6 separate regions of the Homo sapiens genome follow, and regions 2, 3, 4, 5 and 6 are each linked to region 1. Evidence: promoter capture Hi-C in 16 types of primary human blood cells and fetal thymus (Javierre and others, 2016). All regions are on one chromosome and are shown on one strand. The core of a region is centred on a gene start or on the middle of the fragment in contact, and the rest is flanking DNA. Distances in the headings are between cores, read along the strand shown.

What was found. The method cuts DNA at HindIII sites, captures the fragments that hold promoters and counts their contacts. A CHiCAGO score of 5 or more calls a contact.
Region 2: a contact is called between the fragment with the promoter of FUCA2 here and the fragment with the promoter of ZC2HC1B in region 1, in 3 of 17 cell types (M2 macrophages, erythroblasts and M1 macrophages). The highest score is 6.5, in M2 macrophages.
Region 3: a contact is called between a fragment that was not itself captured here and the fragment with the promoter of ZC2HC1B in region 1, in 1 of 17 cell types (megakaryocytes). The highest score is 5.1, in megakaryocytes.
Region 4: a fragment that was not itself captured here is called in contact with the fragment with the promoter of ZC2HC1B in region 1 in 4 of 17 cell types (M1 macrophages, erythroblasts, megakaryocytes and 1 more); the score reaches 7.6 in M1 macrophages.
Region 5: a fragment that was not itself captured here is called in contact with the fragment with the promoter of ZC2HC1B in region 1 in 6 of 17 cell types (M2 macrophages, M1 macrophages, M0 macrophages and 3 more); the score reaches 11.9 in M2 macrophages.
Region 6: a contact is called between a fragment that was not itself captured here and the fragment with the promoter of ZC2HC1B in region 1, in 5 of 17 cell types (erythroblasts, megakaryocytes, M2 macrophages and 2 more). The highest score is 9.2, in erythroblasts.

Annotation. Positions count from the first base shown.
Region 1 is chr6:143,861,791-143,866,992 of GRCh38, reverse strand. It overlaps ZC2HC1B (zinc finger C2HC-type containing 1B), which reads right to left and starts at 2,519. Exons shown (of 8, transcript NM_001013623.3): 1 at 2,426-2,519. The coding sequence starts at 2,453. LTV1 (LTV1 ribosome biogenesis factor) reads right to left here. Exons shown (of 11, transcript NM_032860.5): 8 at 4,750-4,889; 9 at 4,097-4,149; 10 at 3,707-3,907; 11 at 3,181-3,576. The coding sequence ends at 3,466. RefSeq lists a silencer at 315-515. The HindIII fragment of the contact is 3,305 bases long and covers 1-3,262 here.
Region 2 is chr6:143,509,739-143,514,940 of GRCh38, reverse strand. FUCA2 (alpha-L-fucosidase 2) reads left to right here and starts at 3,221. Exons shown (of 7, transcript NM_032020.5): 1 at 3,221-3,530. The coding sequence starts at 3,307. It overlaps LOC105378035 (a long non-coding RNA gene), which reads right to left and starts at 3,156. Exons shown (of 4, transcript XR_007059796.1): 1 at 2,165-3,156; 2 at 1-1,947. RefSeq lists enhancers at 2,261-2,921, 2,943-3,122, 3,233-3,362, 2,922-3,584 and a silencer at 3,785-3,988. The HindIII fragment of the contact is 2,651 bases long and covers 2,246-4,896 here.
Region 3 is chr6:143,525,366-143,530,567 of GRCh38, reverse strand. It overlaps LOC105378035 (a long non-coding RNA gene), which reads right to left. Exons shown (of 4, transcript XR_007059796.1): 4 at 4,645-5,202. Among named protein-coding and RNA genes, the nearest start is that of FUCA2, 16 kb to the right of the region's middle. The HindIII fragment of the contact is 5,428 bases long and covers 1-5,202 here.
Region 4 is chr6:143,552,935-143,558,136 of GRCh38, reverse strand. It overlaps PHACTR2-AS1 (PHACTR2 antisense RNA 1), which reads left to right. Exons shown (of 3, transcript NR_027113.2): 2 at 6-138; 3 at 2,907-4,022. It also overlaps a transcript of PHACTR2 not described here. Among named protein-coding and RNA genes, the nearest start is that of PHACTR2-AS1, 14 kb to the left of the region's middle. The HindIII fragment of the contact is 1,933 bases long and covers 1,482-3,414 here.
Region 5 is chr6:143,569,259-143,574,460 of GRCh38, reverse strand. PHACTR2-AS1 (PHACTR2 antisense RNA 1) reads left to right here and starts at 5,122. Exons shown (of 3, transcript NR_027113.2): 1 at 5,122-5,202. It also overlaps a transcript of PHACTR2 not described here. The HindIII fragment of the contact is 7,387 bases long and covers 1-5,202 here.
Region 6 is chr6:143,598,096-143,603,297 of GRCh38, reverse strand. It overlaps a transcript of PHACTR2 not described here. Among named protein-coding and RNA genes, the nearest start is that of PHACTR2-AS1, 31 kb to the right of the region's middle. The HindIII fragment of the contact is 880 bases long and covers 2,480-3,359 here.

The DNA.
Region 1 (5,202 bases), core at 1,270-3,769:
CATTGGCACTCAACGTTTTTGGATTTTGGATTAGAGATGTTCAACTTCTATGACAGCTGGATACTATGCAAGAATTACCTGAGGGGAAAGAGTGAAATGAAATCAAGGATGGATTCACAGGGGACTTCTATGTTCTATTTCTTAACTTGAACAGTGGCCCTGTGTTTGCTTTAAATATTCTCCTGTAAGTTTCACAATTAAAATGCAAGGCCATTAGAATTTCTACCTTCTCTGCCCTTTAACTGGAACAAGACTGATAAAGCATACCAATGTCAACCCACATGAAGAAGTAACATAAAATTATTGAAAATGTAACAGTAAAGTTACAAGAGGTTAGAGTTCTTTCAACTGAGGTGACTTGATGACATCAAAATGGAGATGTAGATACAGGGCATCACAGGTAATAGACACAAGCGGTAACTGCACTTCAGACACTTAGACTTGTAAAGTAACAGACAGTCCTCAACTTATGATGGTTCAAGTTAACAATTTTTCCATGATGGTGAGAAAGCATATGTATTCAGTAGAAAGTGGTACAATCCTCTCGTGATGCTGGGCAGCAGTGGTGAGCCACTGCTCCCAGTCAGCCATGTGATCACGAGGGCAAATTGATAACTCTACAGCGTGCTGTATTGCCAGATGGTTTTGCACAACTGTGGGCTAATGGAAAGTATTCTGAGCAAGTTTAAGGTAGGCTAGGCTGAGCTATGATGTTCAGTAGGTTAGGTGTAGTAAATGCATTTTTGGCTTACCATGTTTTCAGCTTATGGTGGGCTTATCAGGGCATAATCCCACCACGAGTCAAGGAGCATCTGTGGTACTATGATATCCAAGTGGTTTTACACCATTCACGGGCAGTGCTTAAACAAAATAGGTGGGCCGGGTGTTGGCGGCTCATGCCTGTAATCCCAGCACTTTGGGAGGCCGAGGCGGGCGGATCATAAGGTCAAGAGTTTTGAGACCAGCCTGGCCAACATGGCGAAACCCTGTCTCTACTAAGAATACAAAAATTAGCTGGGCATGGTGGTGCACACCTGTAATCCCAGCTACTCGGGAGGCTGAGGCAGGGGAATCGCCTGAACCCGGGAGTTGGAGGTTGCAGTGAGATGAGATCGCACTACTGCGCTCCAGCTCGGGCGCCAGAGCAAGACCTGTCTTGGCAAAAAAAAAAAGTTTAAGATACAAATTCTTCAAGATTTTGCCCCCTGCCTGGATCTCTTAGGCCTTTCTCTCCTCCCTAACCCCAGTGATTCTAGGCCCTGCTATGGTTCTATGTTTAATTCTTTTCTGAAATCTTTCCCATCTATCCATTCATTCATACACTACTTTGTGACTGTATACTGAATGCCAGGCACCCTTCCAGACCTAAGGATAAAGCAATAAATAAAACACTGTGCCTTCAGGGTTTGTCCTGCGAGAGGAGACTGAAAAACAGTCCTCTGCGTCAACAGATGTTGTGGAGAACATAAACCAGGGAAGGAGGGTCAAGGATGCAGGGGAGGGATGCGTGCAGGATTTTTAAATACAAGCTCAGGGAATAGCCTATAGTGAAGGTTACAGCTGAGCACCAACCATGAGGAAGGTCTGTCTGCAGTGAAAGCACTTCTGGGGGAACAGCAAGTACCAAGATTCTAATTACAAGTGGTACTTACCACGATAGTATTGCCAGTTACATTTCGCTGCACCTATCCTGCCTCCTCAGACCATGTGGCTCCTGAAGGCAAAAACCCTCTGATCTCTTGGGCTCCCAACATTTAGCATGGAGCTTTTATGTTCAGTTCCCAATCATCATTTATAGATTTTTAGAGAACCAAGATATCAGAAAATTCATTTAAAGTATCATGAATTTGTTCTTCAGAATAAAATTAAAATATTTAAGTTTGGAGTATAACCTGCCTAAATCACAATATGCTTCATCAAGACTCATGGCCTAGTCTTTTTCTCTTAATTGCAAAATATATAATATATGGATTTAAACACAGTGAAGTTAGCACCTCATAACACAGAATTTGAGTAACATGACAAAGAAACATCCAATGCCTATTAAGACTCTTGCTGTTTTTGAGAATCTTCAGTTGAGACAGCTATCAAAATAAATGGCCAATCCTTTTAGTACTTACATTCTCAATATTGACATAAACCATCATCTGACCCTTTACTTCACAGGTTGGCATTTAAATACATTCTCTCCAGTATCCTACTTCTGCAATGACAAGCTCTTCAGTCAAGATTTTTTTCTAGCCAATGTTGGTAGAATACCTAATGCCATCAGTTTTGACAACTCTTTAAAAATCCTACAATACTTAGATTTAAACGGATCACACATGGTAGAACAAGCTAATACCTACCAGCTTTGGAAAAGCCATAAATGAATGATTACAGATGAAGGCATTTTCTAATAATTTAGATATCAAGTGCAGCTCACCTGCCAAAAATGGTTCTGCCCCAGCCATTCTGTTCCTAACTCAGAGCAACAGTGTTCACAGATTTTTACAGCCCAGTCCAGATAACATCATACTAGTCAAGAACATAAACCAGGACCACTAATCTGTTGCAAGAAGTCATAGTTTACCAAATAATCAACAATTGTGATGATGTCATTGCCTAAACCTTGAAAAAGTTTAAATCAGTTAAAACAAAAATCAACTCATCAAAAACAGGGAAAGTTTTCAACGATGTATTTTAATCAAGTATGAATGGTTCCAAGCATTAACTGATGTTGAAAAGACAAACTCCCCAGTTTAAACTGAAATAAATATTTCTGATTTTGAACTAGGGACTCACTGAAGCCAAATAAGTTTTCTTATTTCCTTGACTATTCTGTTTCCTGCCTTCACTGTTCCTAAATCCCAAAAGCAAGTCATCCAGTAATATAACAGGAAATATGAATCTTAAGAACCTTAATATTCAGTTTTGCCACACTTTTGAAACAGTCCTTTGTATACAGCAAGGGAAAACTTAGCTTCCTAACAGTGGAACCTTCTCAGAAAAACTCATCTTACACTAAACAGAATAAAGTCAGCATTTCAAAATTGAGTTTAACCAGGCCACTTTTCTATTTACAGCAAATTAAACCATGTAATTCCTGAAAAGGCGTGGAGAGGATTCAAAGAAATATTTGAAAACATCTGCAAAAAACAACTATGACAACCATACAAATAAATGAATACACCAATTCCATTCACGTTATGAAGATATTTTCCTTTAATTTATCAAACATTTCACATTCATGAAGTCATTTACTTCAGAGCAAATGTAAGCTTATAATATTAAAAATTAAAGTATTACAATATTTACAAGATGGTTGGCAGGGGACACTTACTAGTATAAAAATAATACAAATATTGTATTTTCCTCTTATCTGCCAGTAAAAATGGCAAACAGTTTTGTCTTTCTGAAGTTTCTAGTCAATAACCAAAGATGAGGAGCCCCTAATAAAGTGCCTTGCCCTGTATGCTCCACTGTCTATAGCTTTAGACCCTCAACATTCTTCTTCAAGTTCAGCAGCTCTTTTTCTTGCCTTCTTTTCTCCAGTTTAAATGCTAATTTGTTAGCTTTCTTCTCCACTCTTCGTTCCTGTTATAAGTACAAGAATATACTTGTATTATTCACATCTTTAAACTGATACAGACTGCTTTTACAAAATTCCCCTAATTTCCCCTCCACCAGCTCTTTGTAAATCTCACATTTGAAAAATATATTTTACCTTGCGCTCTTCTTTTATAGCTTGCTTTCTTGCTCTTTTATCTTCTTTGCTTTCATTTTTAGAACGTGGCTGAGTTGATACTTTAGGAAGATCACTGCCATTAATCATCTGTATTCTTTCAGTTTGCTTTGCTGTGAGTCCTTTCTTTGGTAAGACATTGAGAGGTATTCCTGTTTTAGAAGATATTCGAATTTGTTTGGGCTGAAATACAGATAAAATGGTACTAGAGTTACTTCTCATTCCTATTAAAAAATAGCTCATTAATGACATACTGTTGATGCTTTTTCTAATATCACTCTAGCCATAAAGATAAAAAGTTATTGTGCGAAAATGTGCACTCTATTTTTTATGCACTGCATCCTTCAAATAGCTCAGCACACTAGGACTTACCTTTGGTTGATACTTGATAAGCTGTGGATGGTTATATAAATTTGAGTATGTACCTAAACAAACAAATAAAAGTCATGTATCAGTAAGCATGTTTTCAGTTCCACAAAGCATTACTGAATTCCTACTATATTTCTGACCTTGTGTTTTCATAGTGCAAAATAACACTGGAGTCTCTGATCAATGTTTTATAAATTGCTTACAACTCAGTATTGGAATATTACTCTTTCCAAATAATTTTTCACAAATTTCCTAAAAGCCTAACTCTTATTAAAATATATGTATTTTTTCAAAGTTGATATATGTTTTTTTTTAGACAGAGTTTTGCTCTTGTTGCCCAGGTTGGAGTGCAATGGCATGATCTCGGCTCATTGCAACCTCTGCCTCCCAGGTTCAAGCTATTCTCCTGCCTCAGCCTCTCGAGCAGCTGGGATTACAGTTGCCTGCCACCATACCTGGCTAATTTTTGTATTTTTTAGTAGACACGGGGTTTCACCATGTTGGCCAGGCTGGTCTTGAACTCCTGACATCAGGTGACCCACCCGCCTCGGCCTCCCAAAGTGCTGGGATTACTACAGGCGTGAGGCACCGCACCCAGCCTAAAGTTGATATACTTTAATACTTTAAAATTACTATCATAAAGTGAATATACTTACTACAAATAGATTCACAATCCCACTTCTCTTTGGCTTCTTCAAGGACTACAGTAATCATTTCTTCCTCCTCAGACTCATCAAGCTCATTCATTGGCAGGTCTTGATCCTCCAAGGGTTCAAGGGTATTCAATTTTACACAACTTTTAGACGAGTTTTTAAAAGTGAAGACCAAGAGGGGGAAAAATGACCTATTATTATACTATGTCACTAAAACTGCAATTTTTAGCTGTGGAAAAACCAATGTTTTAAATGCACATATTCCAGTGACCCATCCGTTATTTTCTGTCAAACTCTGTTCTACCCAGCCCTGCCTCTTCCCTCCAGTGAGTTTTGGACATTCACTCGGCTGATAGGAAGGTAACATCTAGCTGTGTCTTTCCAAGGCAGCTTCCTAAGAAAACAGGTTTTTAAAGCCTAAAAAAGCATAACTCATCTGTCTCTGCAAAGTATTCG
Region 2 (5,202 bases), core at 1,972-4,471, 350 kb after region 1:
CAAGGCCACAAGCCCTTCAAATGCCTTATACATGAGCCATGTGTACCTGCAGAACCCAGGGTTTCACTCAGATTTCTGGATCCCCTATCAAAACCTTTAAATACACAGTTTAAGCCTTATGAGGTGTGATTCTATTGCTCAGTTAGCAGTAGCTTTAAGTGCAAAGACTAGCTTTGTAAGGCATTACAAACGTATAAAATGTGAATGGAATCTACAGCAGGCAGGTCTTTCCCTAAAGGACCATGTTCTAAACGACTTCATAGATTTATTTCTTTCAGTCATTTAACAAATATTTTTAAGTAGAATCTCTTCTTCCTCTTCACTTTCAGATAATACTATTTACTATTCCTTTCAAATCCTATAGCAATGGTTCCCAACCTGGTATATTAGGATTCTTATGTGTCCTGAAGGGCACTAAGGGAGGTCTTTAATATATTTTCAGTATTTCTTACAGAAAATAGACTTTTATGATAAGGTTGTACTTACCAGTTAAAAACATTTCTTTGCCTTCAAGTGAAATGACAAATGACCCAAGTGGCATCCATACAGATCTGATTACCACTCTTTAACTGAAATATATGGAAGTGTAAATAATTCATAACATGATAAAAGGGCTTTGGAAGATGGGCGTTTCTGCTATGTGGTGTTCACATGGGGAAAGGATGCCCACTTATGAGAGGACAGGGTCCTGCTGCCGCTGCATTGTCACCACAGTCATGTCTACTCTCCCTATGGCAGTTCACAGTATCATTGTCACTGTGAATATTGTCTTTTGCACTTATTACACAAACTTCTGATTAGAGAGGATGTCAAGGCATAGTGGCTGAGAAGCCCATATTTTTGTTCAAGTGTGCCCCAGGGTTCAGTGGCCACTGAGGCCCTAGATCATTCTGGGTTCCACAAACTCAATAATAAATATTTGTCAGCCCAGGCACCGTGGCTCATGCCTGTAATCCCAGCACTTTGAGAGGCTGAGGCAGGAGGATGACTTGAGATCAGGGGTTCAAAACCAGCCTTGCCAACATGGTGAAAATACAAAAGTTAGCTGGAGGTTGGGGTCTGTAATCCCAGCTACTCGGGAGGCTGAGACACGATAATTGCTTGAATCCCCGGGGGTGGAGGTGGCAGTGAGTCAACACTGTGCCACTGCACTCCAGCCTGGGCAACAGAACCAGACTCTGTCTCAAATAAAAAAAAATTGTCATCTTTATCACAAACTGGAGCTATTGCAATTGGATTCGTTGAGCCCTTTCCTCTAGAACACCCTCACTGTAAAAAAACAAAACAAAATTGGGGACTCTTACGGTGGAGCTGTGGCCCCGGGGGGCCATCTGGCATGTCATGGAGAGGAAAAATGCCCCTACACCTGCAGTGACAGCGCCCTCTGCTGCTCCCATCTCTCTGCAGAGATGGGTTGGGATAATGCAGGCAACAGCCACTTAGTGTCAAGTTCTTCACTCAATAATTAGAACCCCAGTTCACTGGAGAGCTTCAACAAACATTTTGAGTGCTGCTTTTCTGCTGTAATTGTAGGCACTACAGAAAAGAAGGTCATTATGAATGCCCTCAAAAAGCTCACAGTCTGATGGGAAATCAGACCTGTACCACCTAGCTACTAGAGGATGCGTGAAATCCTATGTGTGCTTGGAAGGAGGTGTTATGAAGCAGATCAGGGAAAGTACAACATTCTGGGAGGGAAGGGTGGTGGCAGAAAGCTTCACAAAAGAAGCAGCATTTGAATTGGCTCATTGAAGGGTAATGATTTCATGGGGGCAGAAGCAGTTGAGGATTCTGGCTTTACTTTGAAAACACTTACGAGGTGGAGGAGAGGCTGGGCTTGGTGGCTCATGCCTGTAATTCTAGCACTTTGGGAGGCCAAGGCGGGCAGATCACCTGAGGTCAAGAGTTTGAGACCAGCTTGTCCAACATGGTGAAACCCTGTCTCTACTAAAAAAGAAAAGAAAAATACAAAAATTAGTCTGGCACAGTGGCATGTGCCTGTAGTCCCAGCTACTCTGGAGGCTGAGGCAGGAGAATCCTTGAACCCGGGAGGCAGAGGCTGCAGTGAGCCTAGATCATGTTACTGCACTCAAGCCTGGGCGAGAGAGCGAGACTCTGTCTCAAAAACAAACAAACAAACAAACAAACAAACAAACAAACAAACCAAACAAGAGGTGGAGGTGATAAGCTTCCCAAATATCCTTTTGATTAATCTTTCCAAGTTGCTGGCCTTTTTTCCCAAGCTTGCAGGTTTCTTAAACATTCATTCCACTGGTTTCACCTGTCTCAGATCATCTCCTTGTTCAATGCAGTGGTTCTCAGGAAAGTTTGGACCACCAATCAGAAACATCACAATTTTGTTTTCTTTCTTTTTTTTTTTTTTTTTGAGATGGAGTCTCACTCTGTAGCCCAGGCTGGAGTGCAGTGGCACCGTCTCTGCTCACTGTAACTGCCTCCCGGGTTCAAGCGATTCTCCTGCCTCAGCCTCCCGAGTAACTGGGACTACAGGCGTCCGCCACCACGTCCCGCTAATTTTTTGTATTTTTAGTAGGGACGGGGTTTCACCGTGTTAGTCAGGATGGTCTCGATCTTCTGACCTTGTGATCCGCCCGCCTCGGCCTCCCAAAGTGTTGGGATTACAGGAGTGAGCCACCGCGCCCGGCCCAACATCAGAACATCCTAGAAGTAGGAACTGGGTAGAAACGCAAATTCTTGGGCCCCAACCTAACTGCTGAATCTGAAGCTCTTGGAATTTCATCTGATACAAATTCAAGGTTGACAACCACGGTTCTAACATGCAGGATCTTGGGAGCTGATACAGAGGCCGAGAAGGATCTAGGTTGCTTTCCATGTTCCATCATGGCGAGACCCGGCTGAAGTTCCTGCCTTGACCTTCTCGTGCACGCTTCGGACGTGTGGAGCAGCCACCAGGGTGGGCTGGGGGCATTGTCTTCTTGGGCAGTTTCTTGGTCAGGGTCGTGTCTGCTTGAGGGCAGAGGCGCTGGCCACAAGGCCCTGACTCAGACTCATATTTTCCCCTCAAGAGGACAGAGCCTTAGCAAAGCCGTCCCAGCTGGCTTTGGGGTAATGCTGGCCTTAGTTATGCTGAGCGATGCAGCCCTCCTGAGGTCATTCGGAACGCCCGGGAGAGTGGCCACTCCCGCCCCAGAGGGGGAAGGGTGGCCGGTTTCCAAGTCCGACTTGGTCAGGTGACCGCGGCGCGGCATACTCAGCGGCAGAGACGGAAGAACAGCGCTCCCGAGGCCGCGGGAGCCTGCAGAGAGGACAGCCGGCCTGCGCCGGGACATGCGGCCCCAGGAGCTCCCCAGGCTCGCGTTCCCGTTGCTGCTGTTGCTGTTGCTGCTGCTGCCGCCGCCGCCGTGCCCTGCCCACAGCGCCACGCGCTTCGACCCCACCTGGGAGTCCCTGGACGCCCGCCAGCTGCCCGCGTGGTTTGACCAGGCCAAGTTCGGCATCTTCATCCACTGGGGAGTGTTTTCCGTGCCCAGCTTCGGTAGCGAGTGGTTCTGGTGAGTGCGCTCCCTTTTGTCTCGTCTGCCGCGCTTTTGTCCCCACCCGCAGCCTCCAGCCACCACCCAGCGGGCCTGGTTCGCCGCCTGGTGCTGCCTGCACCCTCGTCGGTTTCACCTCCCACTGCGTTACCCGCGTTTCGCACTTCCGGGTGTCGAATATGTGGTTTCCTGCCTAAGTGCTTCTGCTGGATGAACAGGGAATTTTTCTTCCGTGTGACTGTAAGAGTTTTCAGATACTCCTGACTCCTCAGCTTCTTCATAGTTGCGCATATTAAGCTGTAGTTATGACACTACAACATCGAGCTACTACAGACATTCATCAGTTTGTGCAGGGGCATCACACGAGCGGTGACTCAGGCACAATGGCCTATGGTTGCTCTGCTGCTACCTGCCAATTTACAGTCGTTCTGCCATGAAGTTATGGTTAAAACATAGTCATGAGTATGTGAAACGACTGTTCATTGAACACCATTGGCTACTTAATGTTAACATGTTACCCATGTGTGGCTCTAGGAACTTTTTAAAGAGGTTCTAGAATGGTACTCTTAACACAACCCAGTTATCATACTGCCGTATGAAAGGTGCTACACAAAAATCTGTGCGTTAGATTTTACCTTGAGATCTATGTGAAAATGTGCATGTAATTTCTTAAACTGTTGCACATGTCTTTTCTGACTAAATGCTACAAGTATTAAGTCCTTCAAAACAGAAATATTTTGTGTGCATATATAGAAACATACACATAATATATTCTTTTTTTTTTTTTTTTGAGACATAGTCTCATTCTGTCACCCAGGCTGGAGTGCAGTGGCACCATCTCGGCTCACTGCAACCTTCGCCGCCCGGGTTCAAACGATTCTCGCGCCTTAGCCTCCTGAGTAGCTGGGACTACAGGCGCACGCCACCATGCCTGGCCAATTTTTTTGTATTTTTTAGTAGAAACGGGGTTTTGCCATGTTAGCCAGGCTGGTCTTGAACTCCTGACCTCAGGTGATCCGCGGTGGCTCATACCTGTAATTCCAGGACTTTGGGACACATAATATATTCTTAAGTAAAAGAACGGAATCATTAAACAGTATTTATTTGAATCAACTATATACTACATAAATAGTATACATCCAAATTAACATACTATATTTAGTAGACACAATACAGAGTATGAACTATATATTATATTAACATTACATAGTATACATGGTACCATGCTCTACTCTAGGGGTAGAAAAATTACACCTCCATTCTGTTAGGGTCTCTGCTGGGTCCAAGAATTAAATTGACATTGTGTGACTAAATTATGTGGGGAGACTTAAATAATAAATTTTAGCAAGTTCTGTACAGTATTCTACTTCTTGTCTTTGAAGCTTAGGATGTTGCCTTTCCTTCTAGTACAGAGTGCCTTTCATACTGGAATTTCATCTTCTCTCCTAAGAAACAGCACAAAGGGCAAAGTGCTCTTCATGCACCTGCTATTTTTCGAGTTTCTTTACCTTTAAAAATGTGCCAAAATAGCATATTTTAACCCTTTCATGACAAAGAAATTGACTACCTGCAACCAGTAACCTTTCTTATTGGTAGGTCAATTGATGTAAAAAATAAAACTGGATAAGCTATGGAGAATTATTCATATTTTAAATAATTCACCTTCTAAAACAGAGACTCTTTATTCTTA
Region 3 (5,202 bases), core at 1,290-3,789, 340 kb after region 1:
AGCACCACTGTGTATTGAATGAATGAATCAATAAATGAAGTCTATTTGGGGAGTAGACATTAACAAATAATTACTTGGCAGTCCATGGCAACTGACAAAACTGAGATTTATGTAGAAGGGCTGAGGAAACTCAGAGGAGCAGTCACCTAACCCGCTTGGGGTGGAGAACCAGGGAAGGCTTCCCAGAGGATGTGGTGTCTGCAATGCAAAGGCACCCCCGGATGAGGAAGGTCATCTGCAAGGACAGAGCCTTGAGGACCTGGGGCTCCTCTGGATGCTGTAATGTAGCACTGCAGAAGAGGAACCCTGTGGGGAGTAGTTCAGTTTTGAACCTGACGAGGTGGACAAAGGTGGGCTAGGATTCACTTTTCAAATACCACTAAGTCTATGCAATCCTAAAATGATTAGGCATCCTGCTTATTTGAGGTTTTGTTTACTTCCAGTTTTGTTTATCCTGTCCCACCTATGCTATAAGATTTCTTTTTCCGGCCGGGCGCGGTGGCTCACGCCTGTAATCCCAGCACTTTGGGAGGCCGAGGCGGGCTGATCACGAGGTCAGGAGATCGAGACCATCCTGGCTAACACGGTGAAACCCCGTCTCTACTAAAAAATACAAAAAATTAGCCGGGCGTGGTAGCGGGCGCCTGTAGTCCCAGCTACTCGGGAGGCTGAGGCAGGAGAATGGCGTGAACCCGGGAGGCGGAGCTTGCAGTGAGCGGAGATCGCGCCACTGCACTCCAGCCTGGGCGACAGAGCGAGACTCCGTCTCAAAAAAAAAAAAAAAAAAAAAAGATTTCTTTCTCCTTAGACTTGTCCCTTGGTACCACGGACATGTTGGCCAGCACGTAGGAAATGTGCCTGTTTGACACTGATTTTAAAAAAAGAGGCATCCAGTACAGCTTTTCAAAGCAAAATGTTTCTAAACTCTATTAGTTTATTTAGCTATTTTCATTGAATACCATTTCCAAAAGGTTAGGGATAAAAACTGAAGATGAAATAAGCATAGTTTTAATCATATAAGAGTGTTTAATACCAAAAATAAAATTAAAAAAAATAACAGAAACAAAAAAACTGTACCTCACTGCTTTACCACTCTCTTTAAAGTGATGACTTATGTAAGATTATAAAAGAAATAAATGAAAATTTATCAACTAGCTTGTTCCGCCCATCAGTGCTAGGAACACTGCCTTCAGCAGGAGCCCAAATGTGGGCTGGGATCTGTCTCATCTCTGGCCAGTGTCTTCCTCCTCCTTGCTGTGCCAGGAGCCCCTCTTAAAGCCACAGTGCCACTTGGAGGGCTCTTTATACATTGCAGATTCACTTACAGAAGGAGGAATTGTTATTCAAAGGCTTTAATACATAATGAAAGCTATCCACATTTCATAAATTAGACAAGCTAGGGAGCTAAACGACCTTTGTAACTGAATTTGTCCCTATTTCATCACTAGTAGTCTTTAGATGCATGAATGTGGATTTTTCATGGTAATGGAAACAGGTGTGACACTCTGGTTAAAATCAAAACTTCCTGAAGGCATTCCTTGAGACAATACCCATCCCCTTCTAACTAATTATTTTTATAATTGCAGTTTTCTTTTGCTATCTTCCCCATCCCCCAAATATATTAAAAAGTTTTATTTCTCAGAGTTTATATGCAAAACATGCACATAAAAATATGGTATGTTTTCTTATGAAATATTTTCCCAAAATACTTGGCATTAGAACTAAGTGTCTTTCACTGACAATAGCATTTCCTTAATATAGGCAGATAAAAATGACTGCAAGTAAGAGAAAGATCAAAATATTATCTGAAAAGAAACGGCAGAGATCAAAATTGACGATACACGATGAAAATGAAATAAGAGAAAGGCAAGGAATCCAGGTAATCAGCAGAGTGAGGATAAATCACCATCTGATAGTGAAAGTAGGCCTGCTTTTAAAGTCACTTAAAAAAAAGAGAGAGAAACAAAAAACAGGAAGTTAGTTTTGATGGTCTCTAAGGCCTCTTCTGGTGTGGAATGTGATGGTTCTGTGAAATTTTTTCTTTGTTTTCATTTTAAAATCGAAGATGAATTCATTTTATGAGAGAGGCCAAAGCTGGCTCATAGTTTTGAGCCCATCCCACCATTTCCCTCTAGAGTACCAGGCTGCAAAAGTAAACACCTCCTTTACCATGCTCTCTTCCTCCCACTCTTCCTTTCTTCTTCTTACTCTAAAACAAACTCATAGAAGTGGAGTGTAGGATGGTGGTTATCAGAGACTGGGGTGCGATGGGGTGGATGGAGAAAGAGGAGATGTTACTCAACAGGTCCAGGGTTTCAGTCAGTCAGACGGGAGGAGGAATAGGTCTGGTGCTGTATCGCAACAGCATGGTGACTATACATATTTTGGAATATATACATTTTGTGGAATAATGAAAAGAGAGCATTTTAGGTGTTCTCACAACAAAGAAATGATAAATATTTGGGCCAGATGCAGTGGCTCACGCCCGTAATCCTAGTTTTGGGAGGTTGAGACAGGCAGATTGCTTAAGCCCACGAGTTCAAGACCAGCCTGGGCAATATGGCAAAACCCCATCACTACAAAAAAACTACAAAAATTAGCCAGGTGTGGTGATGTGCACCTGTACTCCCAGAGACTCTGGTGTCTGAGGTGGGAGGATCACCTGAGCCCAGGGAGGTTGAGGCTGCAGTAAGCCATGATTGAGCCACTATACTCCAGCCTGGGCAACACAGTGAGACCCCATCTCAAAAAAAGATAAATATTTGCAGTAATAGATAGGCTAATTGTCTTGATTTGATCATTCCACAATCTATACATGCCTTGAAACTTCATGTATGCTATAAATATATGCAATTATTACTTGTCAATTAAAAATACAATAAAACATAAATAAATTAAAACAGCTACTATGTCCTAACAGGCTCAGGCTCTGTGCTGGGCACACAGAAGTGAATAGGAATCTCTCTAATCTTGGACTAGCAGCATAGGAGACAGGGGTGTACAAACTACAGTGGAGAGATAAAGGAGGGAATAATTGACCCTTTTGGGGTGAGTCAGGAAAAGTTTCAGGACACAAGAAGTGGCTTATACAAGTGAGTAGGGATAAAAAAGAGGAAGAGGCAGGGAAGGCATCCCAGGCAGGGAAAATACCATGCATGCGGGCCCAAGGCAGGAAAATGGAAGCGAAGAGGAGGGAGGTGAGTATGGCTGGAGGCTTGGAGGAGAGCGGGGACGTGCTGGAATGTGAAACAGAGGCCTGTAAAAAGATTTAGGCACAGAAGAAATGTGATCAGCATCACTGTCTTTTGCTTCAATTTTGATACCTCAATTTGATCCCTAAGTAATGCATACGTTTAATTTGTGGTGGTGTTTTCAGGATTGAAATTCGTGTATATAAAGCACTGGGTGTAATGAATGGCATGTAGTAGGAGCACTGCTCTAAGACATTCAGGATACACATTCTATTTCTTTGTTTCTATAAATCACACCTAGCTCAGCTCCTTCTACAAACATTGCCTAAAAGACATTTTCCAGGATGCCTTCCTTGTCTTGAACCAAACAAGAACTTTTGGGCTTATGAGTGTAGGAAGACAGGAGGGGACTATCTTGAGTGTTAGCCTCAGCAATTGCTGCTTCTGTGACTCTAACTCTCTCATTGAAGGCAAGTGATTCACTAGGGACTCCTTCCATCCCTGCTACACTCAGCCATGGGTTTTTTTTTCTTTTATACCTTTATTTTTAATTGACACACAATAATTGTGCATATTCGTGGGGTACATAGCGATGTTTCAATACATATAATGTATATGATCACATCAGGGTAATTAGCATATCCCTTATCCCAAACATTTATCATTTCTTTGTGTTGGGAACATTCAATATCCTCCTTCTAGCCATTTGAAACTATATAATATGTTATTGTTAACTATAGTCATCCTATAATGGTATAGGACACTAGAACTTATTTCTTCTGTCTAGCTATAATTTTGTACCCTTTAACAAATCTGTTCCTATTCCTTCCTTCCCTCTACTCTTCCCAGCCTCTAGTATCTTCTGCTCTACTTTTCACTTCTGTGAGATAAACTTTTTTTAGCTTCCATATATGAGTGAGAACATGCGGTGTTTAACTCTCTGTGCCTGGCTTTATTTCACTTAACATAAGGGACTCCAGTTCCATCCATGTTGCCTCGAATGACAGGATTTCATTTTTATGGCTGAATAGTATTCCATGGTATATATACACCGCATTTTCTTTATCTATTTATTTGTTGTTGAACACCTAGGTTTCACAACGTCCTTTGAGTAGATCTCCAAGACAACCCAGAAATCCCTCCTTCCATGTCCTCACTCCTCAGAGATTGCTGGGGAGTGCTAAGGTGCCCGTCACTAAGATGCCAGAGGTCTTGACCCCATTCACAGTTGGGAGGTAGGGATGTCAACACACCTGGGGATTGGGTCCTCCTTAGTCCCACCCTCAAAAACTAAAGTCAATTGCTGGTGGGAATGCAAAAGGGCCCCTTTGGAAACTAGTCTGGCAGTTTCTTAGAAAGTGAAAAGTAGACATATCAAATGATCCAATAAACCCACTCATAGGTATTTACCCAAAGTAAATGAAAACTTATATGCATGTAAAACTCTGAAAGCAAGTGTTTACAGTGGTTTATTCATAGCCTCCCCAAGCTGAAAACAACCCAAATAAGTACATCCAACAATGGAATACTAGCCAGCAATACAAAGATAGGAACTACTGCTACACACAACATGGAAGACTCTCAGATACTTATACTAAATGAAAGGAGCCAGGCTCAAGAGGCTTCATACTATATTGTTCCATGTAAATGACATTCTGGAAAAGGCAAAACTATAGGGACAGAAAAACAGACCGGTAGTTGCCAGTTATTGGGAGTGGAGGATGGGATGACTATTTAGGATAATGGAACTGTTGTATATCTTGATTGTGGTGGTGATTATGCAACTGTATTCTTCAAAAGTCAGAATTTTGTGCCCAAAAGACAGAAATCATGAAGAGAAGTTGTGTAACTTCCTTTTGCACATCACAGGTCCCTATAACTCATGTGGAAAGGGTAGCCCCAGAGGGAGATATCTGCTGAGAAGGTGGGTGGGTGCTTCAGATAGAATTAATGAAAAAAATAAACATGATGAACAAAATATCAAAACTTTAAATAGGATCTGACACTGAAC
Region 4 (5,202 bases), core at 1,199-3,698, 310 kb after region 1:
TATAGGCGCTGGATCCAGGGCAAAAATGAAGACATAAGGGACCTTAGGTGACAAGGAAGAAGCTCCCAGGCAGCATGTGGGATGGACCCAAGGAGAACGTCAGAGAGAAAGAGTTCAGTCTGGTGTCTCCTGAAGCAGGTGAGGTACACCTGGACATGAAGGATCCCATCCATCCTTCAAGGGTATTGCTGAGGCAGGAATGAGAAAACAAAACAAAGCAAAGGGGGAAAAAAAGCACAATTCTCATGGAAGATGGTTCCAGCTTATTCCGTAGAACCCTGGCCTAATTTTACCTTCAAGAACATGACCTGACTTCGCTTCCCACTGACAAGGTGTCAACTTTTACATTTCTATTGGGGTTCAGGCAAAAGAAACAACACGCCTGTGTTTCAAAGGTGGCAGCATGCTGACGAAGGAGGGTGGGGTACGCAAGGAACTGGTTGCCTCTAGGACTCGCGACAAGACCTTACGGAGAAAGAAGTCAGCCAAGGAAAAACGACTGGAGTGTGGAAGAGTCTGGAAGAGCTGGACCAGGTCCACATGGTCCGGTCAGTTCTCGAAAAATCGAGACCCTGTGTGGTGAGGGTGAGCCATCTTAGCAGGAAGGTATACCTCCCTGCCCATGCCACCTCCAACACTTCCAGACCTTCTCTTCCCTCCTTCCCCAATCCCACCCAAAGCTCCAGTTCCAGCAAATGTGGGAGTGCAACGAATGGGGTTACGGCAGCAGCCCTGAACTTGGACTCAGAAGACTTGGCTTTAAATTCTGCCTCTGCACTTACTGGCTGTATGACCCAAGATGATTTACCTCCCTCTCCACTTTCCCCATCTGTGAAATGGGGCAAATAAAAGTCCCACTGGATTCAAAAGGTTATGAGGATGAAATATGGTTGAGAGATGAGAATCCTTTTAAACTTCTCTGCAATACTAGTGATGATGATGATTAAAGTAACTTACTTGCAAAATAATGTGAATGGCCATTACCTGGCCTTTAACCCTTCAGGAAGTGTTTACTCTTCAAAGGGAAAAGTTTGTCAAACCAAGTGAATCCTCTTGCCGAACCACATGGAGAACATATTTTGGAGAGAGATGGTAGGCGAGCTCCTGTGGCCCTCTCTAACTGAGGCTGGGGTTAGGGAGGGAGGCCCTTTCTTTCTGGCCTCATTTTTGTTTCAAAAGGAAATGTGGTCTCTCTGAGGGAGGAGGACAGACAGGCAGCATATCTTCTCACGTCTTTGTGCATCATTTTTATTAGTTCCTGGCCCATATTTTTAAAAAAGAATACTTACTCTTAAATGACACACTTTAAAAGCATGCTTTTCTAAATGGCAGCAATTGGACCCCATGGTGTGGCCAGTGCGTTGAGTCTGAAAATTCCATGGTGATGCGTCGCTGTGGTCCTGTGGTGATGTACGTCTTCCTTCTCCTCTAGTTAGCACCCTGTGAGCTGAGAGGTTCAAATCTGATAGCAGCTGAAAGCTTCAAACCTAGAGTCCTCCAAGCTGGGAAGCTGAATTGCTGCTCTAGGGCTGCGTTTAGATTGATTTTTTGAATGCTGTCACTGCAGAGGAGCTAGTCAACTTTTCTCAAAATATTTTTTCTCATCTTTTTCACTTTCCTCTCTCTAGTTTGACATACGGAGTTATGAATGTACTTTCTGGTTTTGTTATATGCCTCAATTTTTATTTTTGATGATTCTATCAAGCTGGCTGCCTTCAATGTTTTCTCCATTTAGTAAAATGCACTACTTCCTGTATTCCTCACCTCCCTCCACCAGATATTCACTCTCCTGGCCCACGCCTTGTGCCTGGCACGCAGGAGCATTGGAGATGCCCCACACCTAAAGTCCATACCTTAATGTCCTGAAATAAATAAATGAATTTAAGGAAGAAAGTCTGAAATGAACTGGGGCCGAATTATACAGTAGCTGGTATCACAAAATTCTAATCAAAGCTAGGGACTTTAGTAATGATCCCTGCCTGAAGTCCTAAAAGCATGCTCCTTTGTTAATTTCTTAACCATCATGAGTTTTCACTGTCCCTTCTGCTACTACCTTCAATGTAACACTACAAATAGATTAATTACTAAGAGTAAAAGGTTTGGTCTCTTTTCTTTTTGTTTTTTTTCTGTTTCTTTTTAAAAAAATTAATTGTGAAATAGCAAATTTAAAAGGATCATTTTTTTGAACAACAGTCTTTAAAAAAAAAAAAAAAGCTAAATGTCATAGTGCCCTAAATTCTTTTGTGTCGGTGGTGATTATATTGTATGTCAAGAAACCATCCTGAGGTGATAATTAGATTTTATCTGCAAATGGAGGTGGGAGGATGAGAGTAGGTGGTAGCGTCAACATTTCACCAAAACAATAAGACAATTCACACGATGAGGTAGGAAAAATATTACTCAAACAGCTGGCTGGGGCTACTGTGTGATTAAGGGAATTTTGACACCATAATCATCTAGGGTGGGGGTATATTTTATTTGCCTATGGCCAGACATTTAGGAAGGCAAACTGGAGCAAGAGGAAAAGCAGGAAAAAATAGACTGATAACCAAAATGTAAAATATTTCTGTGTTGATCATCAGGGAAGTGAATAACACAGGCCACAAAGACCCCTTTTTTTCCCACAGAACTTTTCAACAGATGGTTATACTAGTTGTTTCAGAATTAATACCAAGGATTGAGGGTTGGAGGCATGCAACTTAGAAGCAGTGCTGGTGTGAAAGTGATAAGGTTTTTGGCTCCAAGTAACACCTCCCAATTTGTACAGCAACCACAATAGAAATGTGCTTCAGGCAAGGTGGCGTCCTACATTTTAACTTACCCCCAAGAAAATATCCTGAATTTCACAGGTGTTCTCAGTAATATGACCTGACTGAAAATAGCTTCTCTTCTGTATTTTTCCCCAGGTTAAAATTAAGCTCGGCAGGCTCGACGTAAATGTGCAGACAAAGCAAAGCAGGAAGCCTCCCACACTAAAAAGGGAAGATAAGAATCACAGAAGCTGGGATGGTTTTTATTGAAGGGCATTTCAAAGCAAATACAGACATCTACAGCATATTTGTAAATCCTCCGTATGTGTATGGAAACACACACCTTCACACATCAAAACTGGATTTGTTCCTGAGTAACAAAACGTCCTAAGAACAAAATGAAAGAAAACCAAATAGCAGAAAAATACTTCCAATGTATATACCACAAAGGATTATTTATCAACTCAACACACCAAGAGTTAAGAAAATAATGCAACAGGAACAAAGGGCAAAGGATATGTACTGGGAAGACCACAGAGAAAGAAAATGCAAATGGCTAATAATATAAAATATTTCCTAGGTTCAATAGTAATCAGGGAAAGACAAAATTACACTTTTGACCTCTTAGACTGGCAGTGACAAAGATTATTTGAGTGACCAAGCTTTAGTCAGGCTCCTGGATCTTCTAGGCCCATCTGGGCACTTCCTCGTAAAATACAGTTTTAACAAAAGCCCTGCTAAATTGGTTTACCGAGAACTCCCACCCTCAATCGAGTTCCTTAGCCCTTCACCTTTCCTCAGGTGAGGGCTGATCATCCTGTCCTGTCTTCAGCAAGACTGCTCTAACGCTGACGTTTCCTTTTAGTAATTTTCCATCCACTGACACCCACTTGTAATTTATAGCCAAGGAGCAAGATACACTGCTCCTTGGCTATAAGTTATTTTCCCTGTTACATTCAGAGTTGAGCCCAATCCCACTCCCCGACTACAAAATCGATAGCAGTGGTCCCTATACCTATTGCAATGGTCCTAAATAAAACCTGCCTTACCGTGCTTGAACAAGTGTCATCGAATAATTTTTTAACAGCAAATTGTTGGAGGTAAAGACATTTTTAAATGTCTTCAATTAGTTTAGCTACTTCCACGTAATGTTAAAATCTCCATCAATTGGCTAGTTACTGTCCCTTCCTGAGAAGAAGCAGACACCATAGCCCTGCATACTGTGGATTCACTCCTAAGTTGATATTGATATGAATGAAATAGTTATCTCCCAAACTTTGCTTTCTACATTTGTATCAAAAAACATGATGCCCCTCTGCCCAGCGCCCCCGCCACTGGATCCCCAGTCTCACTCAGAGAAAATGTCAACGTCATTGCGGTGGTCTACAGGGGCCCAACCCGGGATTCTTTTCTGTTCCTTGGGGCCTTTGCCCTTGCTCTTCTCTCTGCCTGGAAGGATCACCCCTTAACTTCTCTCAGGCCTTTCTTCAAATGCCACCTTCTCAGTGGGGCCTGCCTTGGTTGCCATACTTAAGGTTGCAATCTGCACACCTTCACCCCGGCACGACCTATACCCTTCCTCTGCTTTGTAATCACCATCTAATATTGTTTATTTAGTTTGTGTATTGTCTCTGTCTCCCAGCAAGACTCTTTTCTTGATCAAACTCTAGTCAGCTCCCCTGAGCCCTCTTCTCAACTAGGCCTCAACCTCAGCCTATAGAGACTCGAATAAAACATGAATACAGTTTCTAACAGCTCAAGGCCTGCATCTCTAGAATGACCTTAACTCACCTTAAAGTGCCTGTCTGAGAAAACTCAAAACTGTCAAAATAATTTACTGTTTGTTCATCTAACATCTGAAGATGGGGCTCCTGTCTCCAGCCTCTGTGGGAGGGTGGGAGCCTGACTTCCATAAGCACCAGTTAACAAACCCAGCTGGGTTTACATGCACCAACTCCCCTCTTCCTGGTTTGTATGATATTTTCACTTCCGTGAATTTACTGAACCTCTGTTCACCTCCCTCTATACTCCTTCATTCTCTCTTTAAAATGCACAGTCACTTCTGTACAAATTGAAGTTGTTCAGTTCACACTGAATAGTTCTCTATAGCAATAGTCTATCACTCATTAAAATCTCTCCTTGCCACTTTAGTTTCCAGCTTTATCTTTGACACCCTCACTATACTGCAGTCTCTATGAGCTGGATTTTTGTTTTCTCACTGGCACATAATAGAGACTCAGTAAATACTTGCTGAACCTTGTTGATGGGTCAAGAGTGGTGCATGGGTTTTAGCCCCTCAGCCACACTTCTGGGCTGGGATAAGCATGTTTAAGCATCTGGATGAAACATCATTGCTCATTTCACTCCTTAAATACCTGGCAAGTGACAGGCAGCTGGACATCAGAGATCATGCCGGTTTTCCTAAAGGTTTCTTCAATGTGTTTTTTGGTTT
Region 5 (5,202 bases), core at 769-3,268, 290 kb after region 1:
ATGTTTAAAGAAAACTCTTTGAACAGGAACTTTTAAGGTAGCATGGAGGACAGACCTCCAATGGCCATGCCTTTGTACAATCCCTTAGCCTTGAGTGTAAATGAAACTTGTGACTTGTTTTTATCGATAGAATGTGGCAAAGGGAACAGGACACCACTCTGTGATTATGTTACATTATCTAAGACTCTGCCTTAGTGAACTAGAGACCGGGATTCTCCTTCCTGCCTTGAGGAACTGAGCAGCCACGCTGAGGAAGCCCACAGTGAGAGCCTCTAGCAGCTTCCAGTGAACAGCCAGCAAACCAGGGGCACTCAGCCACACAGCTGCACGAACTGAATCCTGCCTGCAGGTGTAATGAGCTTAAAATAAATTCTTCCCCAGTCAGGCTCCAGATGAGAACACAGCCCAGCTGACACCTTGAGTGTGACCTGGCAAGACCCTAAGCAGAGAACCCAGCTGAGCTGCTCGCAGGCTCCTGACCCATAGAACCTGTAACTTGTTTCAGCCACTAGGATTGTGGTAATTTGCTATGCAATAATAGAAAGCGAAAACAGGTAGCATATTAAATAAAATTCACGATTCCATAAACAGTTATGGAGAACCAGACCCAGTTCTGGGCCTAGTGGAAATTAGGCCCTCAGAGTGCTGCTAAATGGAAGGACTAAGCTCCATACAAATATAAGAAAGGCAGGTAAGTGATTTAGTCCACAGTTTCAAGGACATCATAATTTAGTTGAAGAAAAACAGCCACATAATTAACTAAGATAAGTGCCAACACAGGGACAAATAACATGATAGAATGCACAGAAAAAGATCTGTTATCAACAGAAACTTTTCCAAGCTACAGAAAACCAAAATCAAAAATACTTAGAAAAAAAAAAAAAGGAGGGAAAGAAAATTCATGGGTTCACAAAACTGGTTTGGAGGTAGGGCTGGCCTCAGGCTTAATTGCATCCATTCTCAAAGCTCAGAAATTCTCTAGGCTCTTCTCTCTTAACCTTCACAGTTGGGCTGGCTCCCATGGATGACAAACATAATAATGTAGCATCCAGGGACCTCCATGGAATAGAGAAGAAACTTCCATAAGACCTAGTGAAAGTCTCCATGCATCTCGATGGCCTGAATTGGATCAAGGACACACCCTTAAACCAAGCACGCAGCCATTGATGACTGGCCAAAGCCAAGTAAAGCCCAGGAACAAAGAATGGGTCAATCTCTCTAAATCACATGGTTGATAATGTGGGTTAGAGGTGGTTTCCCCACAGGAATATAACACTAAGGCATTTTCAACAGATGTTTACCACATGACCCTACTAGTTCTGAGTAGGAAGATCACGAATGTAATATACAATGAAATGCAATATATAAGAAAATTATACATATACCCAGTGAAGGGTCTATGAGAACATTAGGTACTAGTCTTGCCAGTTTTGTAAGGACAGAATTATTTCAAATTAGAAAGTAAAAAACATTTCATTTTTTATTTTGGATTCTTATCTGATGATGACCAAACTTCCACAGATAAAAGACATTATGCTTTTAGAATTTGATGATAATAGATTCATAGCAGTAAGATTTGTGAATTTCAAAAGAAAATAAACCACTGTTGGCTGGGCACGGTGGCTCATGCCTGTAATCCCAGCACTTTGGGAGGCAGAGGCAGGTGGATTGCTTGAGGTCAGGAGTTTGAGACCAGCCTGGCCAACATGGTGAAACCGTGTCTCTACCAAAAATACAAAAATTAGCTGGGTGTGGTGGCATGTGCCTGTAATCCCAGCTACTTAGGAGGCTGAGGCATGAGGATTGCTTGAGCCCGGGAGGTGGAGGTTGCAATGAGCCTAGATCGTGCCACTGCACTCCAACCTGGGGCAATGGAGAGATTCTCCATTTCAAAAACAACAACAACCACAATGACCAAAACAAAACAAAAAAACAAACAAACAAAAAAACCACTGTTAGTGTTTGAGTATGAATCAATCTATAATAAACACATAGTCACAAACACTCACACACATTCTATTTTGAAAAAATATATAGTTGGGATATATTTGATGGAGGCATTAGACTCTAGTTTTGGTCAAGAAACTTTCAGGTTCACTTCAGTGTTGAGGCTGTATATATTGATCAGATTGACTGGAAAATTGTCATGAGATCCAGAGAAACAGAGATGCTGTTATCAAAAATTCAGCAAAGAGGGAAGGTGTCAGGACAAAATATGATGAGGGGAGAATTCAAGCCAGTGAGGAGCTAAACTGCAGAAGATATTTACACGGGGCCAAAAGAATTTCTTAGCAAAAAACAAAGTCTACAACAACAAAAAGTCTAAAAGATATTGGACCTGTAGTTACCTACTAAAAAGAAATATAGAAGCAAGAAAGAGTAAAACAGATTTTTTGGTGAAAATCCTAGTTGTGTGGCTTCCCATTTTTTAGCATATGTATCAAAATAGGCTATGCTCCTCATAATCTGACATGTTTTTGGGACCAGTGTTTCATAAGAAATCAGTTCTGTAGATGGTAGAAGAATATCTAATATCTCCTACATAGAGATCTCCCATATGGTAAATATTAATTTTCCAAGAACATGAACAGAACGTTATAAATCTAACATTAAAATAATACTGAAAGCAGGGCTCATAGGAGAAAAGACTGATTCTAAAGCAGGGACAGAGAAAACACAAGATGAGTCTGGAACGTCTTGTGGTCCCAGAAAGTAAGGAAATGATTTTTTTAATGATGGGAGCATGGCAAATGGACACAGGAGTAAACTTGTACCAAACTCTCGATAGCCAATTGTACAACAATGTGGGCAACAAAATGAGTGATGATTGACCGGCCTGGGAAACATAGCAAGACCTCATCTCTATAAAAAAATTTTAAAAAAAATTAACCAGGTGTGGCAGTGCACACCTGTAGTCCCAGCTGCTCAGGAGGCTGAGGTGGGAGGATTGTTTGAGCTCAGTCAAGACTTTGAGGCCACAGTGAGCTATGATTGCACCACTGCACCAGCCTGGGTGACAGAGCTGGAGGGTCTCTAAAAAAAGAAATAAAGTAGATAGTAATGGATTATAGGATAAAGGAAATATCCATGAGACCACACTAATACAAATAAATAACTGAATGAATAAATAGCTCAGAAGAGGTAGCTCTTCATTGTAGTAGAATTCCAATTGATAAATGCAGAAGGATGATAACTAGAAAGTCACCATCTGACAAACACCGCAATGATAATTGTTACTAACAATGATAATTGTTAGTGGGATAATTGGCTAAATTTGAATGACAGCTGCAGATTAGTTAGAAGTACTGTACTGTACTGCTCTTTACCTACATTCCCTTCTTGATTTCCATCGTTGTACTACAGTTTTGTAAGATATTACCATTTGGGGAGTCCAGGTGAAGAGTATACGAGAACTCCATGTACCAGTTTTGCAGCAGCTAAAAGTTAAATGATCTTAAATTAGAAAGTTTTTTAAATTTCATGAAAAATAGGAATATAATTTGCGTCTTCGAGTCTCAGGGGCATTTGATAAACATCGATCACCACTTGCAGAGCCATCCCTTAGGTTAGGGAATCAGGGCAATTGTCTTCAGCCTGAATTTTGGAAGAAGAGGAGGAGTCCGGGGAGGGATTTGCAATAAAGCGGCATCTCCACCGTCAAAAGTGTGCTCAATAAGATAGAGGCCCCCTACCAGAACGAGTCGATGAACCTGCTACTTCTCCACTTGCACATGCACCTCACGCTGGCCATGGCTGCTGTGCAAAGGACTGATCTTCATAAAAAGGTGTGGGGATTAGGGAAGGAGAGCAAGCGGGGAGAGGGAGAGCCCCAGGAGAGTGGGGAGGGGCCTGCCACACCTGGGGTGAGTTGCCAGTCACCTCATCAGGACCAGCTCTGGGAGCTGAACTGAAAAGGCACAAAACTGCCAATCGATAGAAAGCTATTGATAGAACATTTTCATGGCTGTATTTGAAATGCAGTCGATGTCACCCCCCAAAAACAATAATATTTACTTCCATGTCACTGGCAAGTGTGTTACTCCTCATCTCACATTTTAATCTCCAGCACAGTGAGAGAAGCCGAAGTACAAACCCTGCATAAGATGACTGTGAGTACAAAGACATTTGTGATTAGGGCCAGCGGGTGGCTGAATGGAAAAACAAATGGGGCTTCACCTGTGACTCAGACCAACAGCAACCTCGTTTTTTAATATCAGCAAAGCAAATCATTATTTCTAAAAATGTCATGCACACATTTTAAATTCTTAAATGTTATGATGCCACGAATGCTGATCTTTGGTTAAATCTGATTTGAGCCTAACACACTTAAGGGAAACAGAATCTCTTAAGAGCAGAGAATAAGGAGAAAAACAATGAAATTGACCTCAAAGGATTGGACTGGGACTTTTATTATTTAGGTTCCTAGATTTAAACATTTTTTATAGTAATGTTTACTCATTCAAAAACATCTACTGAATCGAATTCTGTGAACTGGTTGTCAAAAATGAAAATCTCCTGGTCTGGTGGAGATTTCTTTAAGACATTCCACCATATAACTTATCACACGCAGCACTTCCCAAATCTTCAGTCATTTGAATAGCATTTCTCAGACTTTTGCCATATCTGCACATCAATTATACTTTTATCTGCTGGATATTTCTCCTTAAGTCACTTCATTTTCTCCAATGTTATTGTAAAAGAAGCATTTATGCAACCACTAAGAATGGGAAAGACACATCACTTGCCATAAGTGGAAAAGAATTATACATGTAAATATTTAAAAAACAGGTATGTCTATCTATATTCCACATAAAAATATCCTACATACCACCAGTGGTATGTAGGCCACAGTTTGGAAAATATGGCAATATAATCTAAATAATATAAATACATCAAAATTTTCAGGATGTACTCCCCACATACAAGAAAGGTTTAAAATCAGAGAACAGACTGAGGCCATTTTAGAGATGGAATGTGTAGTCAGAATAAACACAATTGTGCCACTGTCACAAATAATCCCCAGATATCATTGGCTTGACATCACAAAAATGGATTTCTCAATTACATAAAGTCCATTGTGGGCCACATGATTCTCCAAGGAGACTGTTGCCATGGTGACTCAGAGTTGAGGCCAATGGCGGCTCCACCATCCTGTGGCTATGATTCCTGAACTTGTGGTCTCCTCAGTTGATGAGGTGAAGA
Region 6 (5,202 bases), core at 1,670-4,169, 260 kb after region 1:
TTGCAATGGTCCCAAATAAAACCTGCCTTACCGTGCTTGAACAAGTGTCATCGAATAATTTTTTAACAGCAAATTGTTGGAGGTAAAGACATTTTTAAATGTCTTCAATTAGTTTAGCTACTTCCAAGTATTTTTTTTTTTTTTTTTTTTTTGAGACAGAGTCTTGCTCTTGTCACCCAGGCTAGAGTGCAGTGGTGCAATCTTGGCTCACTGCAGCCTCCGTCTCATGGATTCTAGCAGTTCTCCTGTCTCAGCCTCCTGAGTAGCTGGGATTACAGGCATGCACCACCATGTCTGGCTAGTTTTTGTATTTTTAGTAGAGACGGGGTTTTGCCATGTTGGCCAGGCTGGTCTCAAACTCCTGACCACGGGTGATCTGCCCACCTCGGCCTCCCAAAGTGCTGGGGTTACAGGCATGAGCCACTGTGCCCAGCCCACACTTACCCTCTTTACCATCTTAATGCAGAGGCTGTGAAACTTTTCTGCACATCCAGATTGCCTGGTGTCTGGACCTTACATAAGGCAACATCCATCAGACACAGTCTTCCGACAAGTTTGGACTTTTGGCCAAGGTGGTTTGGTGAATCCACACTTGGACAACACCCCACTGCTCCAAACACATAGCAATGATAGATAAAATATTAAATAGGTAAATCACAGCTAGGCACAAGAAGCTAGCTGACCATTTCGATGAATGAGCAGGGAGCCAAAAGCTGAAGGCTGTGGGTGAGGTTTCTGCAATGTCCTGCTGTACCCAAGGGACAAAAGCAGAGGTCAAGGCCAGATGCGCAGCTCCTATGTAGTAATGGCTCTAAAAGAGCTCCACATGAGAAAGGAGCAATCAGAGCCAGGCTCTGCTTGAATGGAGAGTCCTGGCTCAAGAAATGAGGTTGGAAAAACAAATGGCTGATGCCTTAGTTCCAGGAGCCATGGCTTTATAAAGCCTTGAGGGGCAGGGAGAGGATAAGTCTTCATAATCAATAATTAACTAAGCTTCACGTGGGTCCCTAAATACTGGATCGGCAGTATGCCCTCAAAATTGAGCAGAAATTTCCTCAAGATGTCATTAGAAAACCTGACTAGATGGGAAGGTTAGAGGGACAAGGTGGAGATGACTTCAAAACCATAAAACTATTAGGGAGGGGGAGAGCGAGAGTGAAAACAAAACTAAAGGAACTAATGTTAGGCAGCACAATGAGGTGACTATAGTTAACAATCGTATTTTATATTTCAAAATAACTAAAAGAGTGGAATTGGAATGTTCCTAACATAAAAAATGATAAATGCTTGAGGCAATGAATATCTCCATTACCTTGATTTGGTCATTACAAGTTGTATGATTGCATCAAAATATCAGATGTAACCCATATGTATAACTATTATGTATCAATAATAATTAAAAATTTTTTAAAAATTAAAACCACAAACAAGCAAACAAACAAAAAAGACCTTCCACTGAAAATGAAGGCATGAGTTGAATTCCAAAATATTTTAAGATTGCTAATACATAAAAAGCGTGGGAATGTATTTCTCTTACAGTAACAATGCAGAAGAATGAGCAAAAACAAAGGACCATCTGGGACCCAGGAGTCCACACAGATGGCACTTACTCAGCAATGAATCTCAAAGTGAATGCCCTGGTGGCTGGAAAACTAAAAAGCCTATCTCCGTGAAAGGCACAAAAGGAACTCTGCCAAAGTCATAGAGAGAGGGTTCCTCAATATGTGAAATATGTTTAGCTTTTCTAATAAAACCAGTTAACCCAAGAGTGCTTAGGAAGCAAATTCTGACATCTAAATGAGATTTCTTAGGTGTCAGTCTAGTGTGCCTTAGCCCAGCATTGTACTCCTAAAAAAACCTGCAAGCAGCCCTCTGAGAAGGAGGCTCAACATTGGCCTGGCCCTGCAAAAACATGTTGGGGAAGCTCTGGCCATTGCAGTGAAAATCAATTCATCAGACACTTTGACCAGCAACCTGTACAGATCTAAAGGCCATCCCAAGACGGCCTTTTTTTCCAGAAGATTCTGATTTTCTCAAAGAAGATTCTGGGCTTTCTTCCTTCTCCTCCAGAATTGGAACCCACAACTGACACCTGTATCTGAGTCTCAAGCCAGAGACCACAGCTTTCATTTTTTGAACATTGACTATTTACCAGGCACGGTGCCTAATACTTTCTTTATGCATTTATTTCATTAAAACATAACAGCAAGAATGAGTTTGGTACTATTATTATTCCCATTTTATAGATGAAGAAACTAAGGCTTGGAGAGGTTAAGAAATGTGCCTCAAGATGCACAAATGATAGATCTGGATTCAAACTCAGGTCTTTCGTATTGTAGCATGTTCATGTGTCATCTCTTCATTCTACAATATTTACCAGGAATGGCCAGGCTCAATGTATAGGCCCAACTTCTTTTTATAGAATCTTATTTTATTGAACTTCTGCTTTCAATGCAAAAGCATAATTTCTTTTAAAGCTTCAGGCTTCTGTCTCAATTTGACTAATGAAATGTTTAAAGCTATTCTTTTTGCCTTGGCAAAACAAAACAAAACTAAACAAAACAATCACTTCGCCCTCAATAGCACTCAATAGTCTTGGTATGAAAATAAACATGGTAGAATTACTGCCTGTAAAAGGCATTGAGATACAGGCCTCTTTCTAAATTCCAGGAGATGGCTGCATTTAAAAATTATTCCTGAAGGAAGACTAAATTATAAATCTGTAAATCAAAGCAGAAGGATATATGCTTACCATTATTTAGCTCAATCTATTTATCACTTCAAGGATTTTTAAAAATAGTTTTTAAGAACTGTACCTATACTTTATTATGGCCAATGCTCAAAAAATTATTGAGTTGGCAGCAATGCCACCAGGTCACTGGAATGCAGAGGAAGGCATCTGTTTGACATGGTGCTGACTATTGGCAAAAAAGGGCTTCTGAACATATCGATCAGCCAAAGGGGTAGCCTGTTGCTTAAAGGGCAGTTACAGCTGCTTATGGATGAGTCTACTGTTACAAAACCAGCAAACAAAGGGAAAAACTGGTTCAGAGAAGCTGCTTCAGGAATATACAGCTTGCACAAGTTCTCTCCACAAGCCACCAGTTAGTTGGAAATATGATGGGTACCCATCCTAATAACATAGCAAGTTCCCCTCCAATGATGTGGCTGGCAGGCTCATGCCGGCCGGACGGCGGGCAGCCTGCTATCCATACTCAAAAAGGTGATTCTCTCTAGTAGACTTTAAGAAAGGGTCAGACTACTGTTTTCTCAGATTAGAATCATGAGCTGCCAACTGGTAGTCTAATCAAATCCAGCTCACTGACATGATCATTTGGCCAGGCCAAACCTTGAAAGCTTTAGACAAGGCATCTGCTCTGAGTTTGCCAAAGTTTCCACCACTCCCAATTGTCTCACATTGAGCTACACACACTTACATGGCCTGCCTGGCTCCTGAAAGCATTTGGGCCCAAGTCAGCAGAATGGCCTGCTGACCTCTCAAATCCCTTGCAGACTCATGACTCTATAAAGAAAGGGTGGTATGTCTTAATACAGCATAGAAAGGGGGAAAGGTATAGGTTGGATCTTAATGAGCTGTTCTTATAGGCTAGCAAGGGAAGCACCCTTTGCAACTCAAAAAATTTCCTCCGTAGGCTGTTTGGGATTCATCAAACAAGTATTCTAGGCTCTGCTTGACTTAAATTTAAATTAATAAGCATTTCTTTAGTAATACGACATTTGTTAAGTTGGGTTACTTCTTATCAAACATGTATTGATTGCTTCCATGAAAGACGTAGAAATCTTGTCAAGGTCTTCCTCGTAGCTCCCAGAACACTACTGAGTACTCAACAATTGTTTCTAGAATAAATACATGACCAGATAAGTGATGGATGAATCAATAAACAGTGTGGTCCAGGCAGGGCCAAAATTCCTAAAAATGCCTAAAAAGCATGTTACTTTTTTCTCTCATGAATCAATTTCTGCCTGATCTCCTTAAATAGCCTAATGAAAGTTTAGTTTTCTCCTACGAAAGTACACTTGCCATCTAGTAGTTTTATTTTTTTAAAGAGTATTAACACATAGGCTTTAGATTAATTGAGAGAATGATTCTTTTTCACCATTCTGCTTTTGTCTCCTTATCCAGGACTTCATTGAAAAAAGAATTGGAGGTGACCCCAATTTTTCAGATCAGCTTAGGACACCTAGAGCAAAGCGCTGAGTACCCAGAGGGTCATCAATAAATGCCTGACTGATTTAACTGGGGACTGACCTCTCTGACTCCTCCCACTGCCATCATTGTTCTAAAAGAGTCAGGGGTGAGATGCTATCTAAATTTAATTACAAAGGACTAATCTACTATGTTTACTATTCACGCCACTAAACCTGGAACAGATAACAGAAAGCATCAATGCCAGCCATTTAAATGGCTCTAGGTGGACTTGTTAGGACCACAGCAAACACTTAGCTAGTCTTTGAGACATGAGGTCTAGTGATTCCTCTAAGGGGGTCATAGAAAGTTCCTGGGAGCCATAAAAAAAGGAGATAAAACATCTGCATCTGATACGAAGGACAAAGCCAGGAAAGGCACTGGATAACAGTCAAGGTTAACCAGGTTCTAACATATCCACAGGGACATAGGCCAGGAAGGGGAAGCCATGTGGTTGTTCTTAGAGAAGTGCTTTGCCATCAGATGACTGCGATCCCTCCCTGGCCCACACTTCTGCTTTTACTTTCCTTTCCTATTATCTTTTCATCAGTATTAGTTTCCTGTTGCTACTGTAACAAATTACCACCAATTTAGTGGCTTAAAACAGCCAAAATTTACTCTGATGGTTCTGGGTCAGAAATCCAAAATTAGTCTTATCTTGTAGGGCTCAAATCAAGGTGTTCTGAAGGGCTGCATTCCTCTGGAGGCTCTGGCTTGGTCTCTTCCACCTCCTAGGCTCAGTTGCATTCTTTGGTTACAGCCTCATTGCTCCAAAATTTGTCTTCATTGTCACATTGCCTTCTCCTCTTTTAACCTTCTTGTCCCTCTTATAAGGAATCCTGTGATTACACTGAGCCCAGCCAAATAATGTAGGATCATTTCGCCCAGGATCATTAAGTCAACATCCTTAACGTCTTCACATCTGCAAAGTCCCTTTTGCCATGTAAAGTAACATATTCACAGGTTTAAGGGGTTAAGATATGGTTCTTTTTTGG